2 separate regions of the Homo sapiens genome follow, and region 2 is linked to region 1. Evidence: promoter capture Hi-C in human tissues and cell types (Jung and others, 2019). All regions are on one chromosome and are shown on one strand. The core of a region is centred on a gene start or on the middle of the fragment in contact, and the rest is flanking DNA. Distances in the headings are between cores, read along the strand shown. Region 1 holds the start of GPR135 (G protein-coupled receptor 135). Region 2 has its middle 24 kb from the start of DACT1.

What was found. Contacts are between HindIII fragments. The study calls those that stand out against the background at their distance.
Region 2: a fragment that was not itself captured here is called in contact with the fragment with the promoter of GPR135 in region 1 in 2 of the 25 tissues and cell types used here (H1 embryonic stem cells and IMR-90 fibroblasts).

The regions. Positions count from the first base shown.
Region 1 is chr14:59,464,107-59,466,675 of GRCh38, reverse strand. GPR135 (G protein-coupled receptor 135) reads left to right here and starts at 1,296. Exons shown (of 1, transcript NM_022571.6): 1 at 1,296-2,569. The coding sequence starts at 1,450. It also overlaps a transcript of L3HYPDH not described here. RefSeq lists a silencer at 1,226-1,765. The HindIII fragment of the contact is 12,129 bases long and covers 1-2,569 here.
Region 2 is chr14:58,660,244-58,662,812 of GRCh38, reverse strand. No RefSeq gene overlaps it. Among named protein-coding and RNA genes, the nearest start is that of DACT1, 24 kb to the right of the region's middle. The HindIII fragment of the contact is 4,345 bases long and covers 1-2,569 here.

The DNA.
Region 1 (2,569 bases), core at 47-2,546:
ATAAGCACTCCAATACTAATACCATTGATTCTAAGATCTACAAATATACTAGTCATTCTTTAGAGCAGTGTTTCTCAAATTTGTGCATCAGAATCACTGGGAGGGCTTGTTAAAACATAGGTGCCTGGGCCCCACCACAGGAGTTTCAGTAGATCAGGGGTATCCTATGCACTGTAGGCCTGATAATTTGTATTTCTCAAGGTTTCCAGGGGATGTTGATGCTGCTGGTCCAATGTCCATACTCTGTGAACCACTGCTTTAGCGAAGAGCCCAGGGTTAGTTAACCTGAGGGTTTATCACACTTTTCCCCATTAGAGGCCATGCCCAGAAACTTGAGATGCAACTTCCCTGGGTAGCCCTGCCTTTCTTTTCCCCGTATCTCCCAGCCAGGTACCTGGAGCTGCATCTGTGGTGATTGCCAGGCTGGCAGCACCTTAGACTCAAAACATACCCCATTCCTGAGAACAGATGAAGGCTGCTAGCAGGGCAAGGCACCAATCCCTCTCCCCCCATTTATCAGCCAGTAGGGGCCTGAGGTCCAGGCCCTTGGAAATGAAGTAACATCTAAAGGAACTATCCTAGCTCCTCAGAGCACCTGTATCAGAATCACCTACGGGGTTTAGAGTCATGGGCCCATCCTTAGTAATTCTGTCAGCCTGGGAATCTGCATTTTATGAAACTCTTGACATCAGTGCTTCTGTAAGTGTGGTCCTGGGACCAGCATCATCATCACCACCCGCGAACCCGTTAGAGATACAAATTCTTGGGTACTTCCCCAGACATATTCGAAACGCTGGGGTTCAGACCTCGTCACTTGTATTTTAACACGCCCTCTATGTGAATTCTGTTAGCTCAAGTTTGAGAATTACTGGTTTAAATTAGTCTGCTTCTCAAGTTTAAGATGTCTGGATGTAGACTTCTGGATTTTTCTTTCACTTCACTTTCTAGATTCCTTTCCTACCTGTATATACCAAAAGCACCCACAGGAAGCAGAGTGCCCCCCCCACCACTCCCCAAAAGGCCTGCCTGTAGAACATTTGTACCCTACAAAAGAGAGCAAGAGTGAACTTTCGTTGAATCTGGTCATTTGTTTGCATGCCAGTCGGCACTTTATCTGGCCGGACATTGGTCCCTCAGGAGGTCGACCTGGCACTCTCGGAAACCCGAACACCCGGGCCGGTAACCTCCGGAGTGGCGGTGTCGCGGGTCGGCTTTGCAGCGGGTACTGGGCTGCCGTCCCGCCCCGCGCTCCTGCGTAAACACGCGGTTCCCTCGGCAACGCTGGAACCCACGTCAAAGGCTCCGCCAGGTCCCCAGCGACCGCCACCCCTCCGGCCGAGCCCAGCTCCCCGCGGCGGCCGCTAGCCCCCGGCCCCGAGCCACCACTCCGACCTAGCGGCCGCCGCCCCCGGTGCGGGATGAGGAGATCCGCGGCCGCCACTGGGCCCCATGGAGGAGCCGCAGCCGCCCCGCCCACCAGCGAGCATGGCCTTACTGGGCAGCCAGCACTCCGGCGCCCCCTCCGCGGCCGGCCCACCTGGCGGGACTTCCTCCGCGGCCACGGCGGCCGTGCTCTCCTTCAGCACCGTGGCGACCGCGGCGCTGGGGAACCTGAGCGACGCAAGCGGAGGCGGCACAGCTGCCGCTCCCGGTGGCGGCGGCCTTGGCGGGTCCGGGGCAGCGCGGGAGGCGGGGGCGGCGGTGAGGCGGCCGCTAGGCCCGGAGGCGGCGCCGCTGCTGTCGCACGGAGCTGCAGTGGCGGCCCAGGCGCTCGTCCTCCTGCTCATCTTCCTGCTGTCTAGCCTTGGCAACTGCGCGGTGATGGGGGTGATTGTGAAGCACCGGCAGCTCCGCACCGTCACCAACGCCTTCATCCTGTCGCTGTCCCTATCGGATCTGCTCACGGCGCTGCTCTGCCTGCCCGCCGCCTTCCTGGACCTCTTCACTCCGCCCGGGGGTTCGGCGCCTGCCGCCGCCGCGGGGCCCTGGCGCGGCTTCTGCGCCGCCAGCCGCTTCTTCAGCTCGTGCTTCGGCATCGTGTCCACGCTCAGCGTGGCGCTCATCTCGTTGGACCGTTACTGCGCTATCGTGCGGCCGCCGCGGGAGAAGATCGGCCGCCGCCGCGCGCTGCAGCTGCTGGCGGGCGCCTGGCTGACGGCCCTGGGCTTCTCCTTGCCCTGGGAGCTGCTCGGGGCGCCCCGGGAACTCGCGGCGGCGCAGAGCTTCCACGGCTGCCTCTACCGGACCTCCCCGGACCCCGCGCAGCTGGGCGCGGCCTTCAGCGTGGGGCTGGTGGTGGCCTGCTACCTGCTGCCCTTCCTGCTCATGTGCTTCTGCCACTACCACATCTGCAAGACGGTGCGCCTGTCGGACGTGCGCGTGCGGCCGGTGAACACCTACGCGCGCGTGCTGCGCTTCTTCAGCGAGGTGCGCACGGCCACCACCGTCCTCATCATGATCGTCTTCGTCATCTGCTGCTGGGGGCCCTACTGCTTCCTGGTGCTGCTGGCCGCCGCCCGGCAGGCCCAGACCATGCAGGCCCCCTCGCTCCTCAGCGTGGTGGCCGTCT
Region 2 (2,569 bases), core at 34-2,533, 800 kb after region 1:
TTTTTAAATAAAATATATTGATTTTAAAACTATTACTATGACCTTTTCTTGATGATCAAAAGCAGATTGAATTTTATTCTTAATCACTGTGCATTTTTTTTGTATTTTTACCACCTCTATCTAATATAAAACATCTGTAGCCTTTGGACTGGACTCCAATTCTCCCCACTACTCTCTGTGTATCGGGTTCACCCCCTCAGCTATGATGCTGCCCTTCACTATATTCCTGCAGTTAATCAACCAAGATTTTGTAAGGATCTTCTCTCTCTGTGCTTCCTATCATCTGTACTACTTGTTTGATTTCAATAATATACAGTTTTATGTGGTTACTTAAAATTTAATGTGTTTATAATTTCACCTCCTAAGATTTAAGCTCATTATCAAGAGATGCTGCGAGTTGTTCCCAAAATACATTCTTTCTTTCCTCCACATAAATAGAACTCCTGATTTTACTTGGGGCACATGGCCACCCATAATGAAGTTCACATTTCTTAACCTTGCTGCAGCTAGATGTGACAATGTAACTAAGTTGTGGCCAATGAGACTTAAGTAAAAGAGTTGTGTGCAACCTCCAGGAAGTGCTGTGAAAAACAGGAAGCATGCTCTTCTTTTCTTCTTTTCCTTGGAAATGTTGACATGATGGCTGGAGCCCACACAGTCAGCTGAGACTCTGAAGTAAAAAATTATATGCCAAGAAATCCAGGGCAATAAGACAGGAGGAAACTGGGCCCTGGTGGTATTAGGAACCTTCCTTGGCAGTCAGGACTGCTTTTTTCGAGATTTATTTCATGTGAAAAACAAACTTACATCCAGTTTAAGCCATTGTAATTTAGGGGTTTCTGTCACCCACAGCTGAACTCACCGTAACTGGTAAAAACAGTGCATGACCATATTTTCATTCATTCTGAAATGATTTCCTGAATATTCACTGCGTGCCAAGCACTGTCCTGGCTCTGGAAATGCAGCACTGAACAAAGCAGAGCCTCTCCCCTTGTAAAGCTTTGTTCTAGTGCAGTATCCACACAGCTCCTAACACAGTGCTACACAGTAGCACTGAACAGGTAGGTGCTGAAATATTGGATGAATGAGTTCACAATGAGCCCTACTGTTTATCCTTTAGTATTAAACTGATTTTGTTTATAAATCTGAAATTCGGCCGGGCGCGGTGGTTCACACCTATAATCCCAGCACTTTGGGAGACCGAGGCAGGAGGAGCACAAGGTCAGGAATTTGAGACCAGCCTAGCCACATAACGAAACCCCATCTCTATTAAAAATAGAAAAATCGGCCGGGCACAGTGGCTCATGCCTGTCATCCCAGCACTTTGGGAGGCCAAGGTGGGAGGATCACAAGGTTAGGAGTTCGAGACCAGCCTGGCCAATATGGTGAAACCCCGTCTCTACTAAAAATACAAAAAAATTAGCCAGGTGTAGTGGCACATTCCTGTAATCCCAGCTACCCGGAAGGCTGAGTGAGGCAGGAGAATTGCTTGAACCCAGGAGGTGGAGGTTGCAGTAAGCCGAGGTCACGCCACTGCACTCCAGCCTGGGCAACAGAGTGAGACTCCATCTCAAAAAATAAATAAATAAATAAATAAAAATACAAAAATTAGCCAGGCATAGTGGCACGCACCTGTAGTCCCTGTAGTACTCGGGAAGCTGAGGCAGGAGAATGGCTTGATCCTAGGAGGTGCAGGTTGTGGTGAGCCAAGATCGCACCACTGCACTCCAGCCTGGGCAAGAGAGTGAGACTCCATCTCAAAAAAAAAAAAAAAAAAAAAAAAAAAAAAAAAAAAAAAAATCTGAAAATCTTTGTATGACTAATGCTCAAAAAAAGAATCACAACTGTTTTTTAAAAGAAAGAAAATTATTTAACCAAACTTCCATTACCATACACTCTGCCCCCCAAAAATAAACACATTAACAAAGTTCTATTGATACCTTTTAAAATATAATGAAAAATGATGACAGCCCAAAATAATGAATTGTAGTGTTACACAAACCCCCATTTTTCTATTTCTTTCTTTTTTTTTTTTTTTTGAGGCAGGGTCCCACTCTGTCACTTAGGTTGAAGTACAGTGACATGATCATGGCTCACTGCAGCCTTGACCTCCTGGGCCCAAGCAATCCTCCCACCTCAGCCTCCTCGGTTGCCAGGACCACAGGTTTGCACCACCACACCTGGCTAATTATTTATTTATTTATTTATTTATTTATTTATTTATGTCTCTCTATGTTGCCCAGAATGGTGTCTTGAACTCCTGGACTCAAGCAATCCTCCCACCTTTGCCTCCCAAAGTGCTGGGATTACACACGTTAGCTACCATGTCCAGCCCTCTATTTCCTTATCCATAATAGGAACGTGTATAGGACTGTTGTGAGAATTAAATGAGATAATGTCTCAGAAAAGGTTAATAAATATTAGCTACATTCATTCAACAATAAATATTAACAGTCTTAAAAATAATCACATTCAGTAGTTCCATTTCTGGGATTCTATTCTAAGAAAATAATCCTTAATATGGGGGGGAAATCTTAACCAAAAAAGTTCATCCCAGTGTTATTTATAG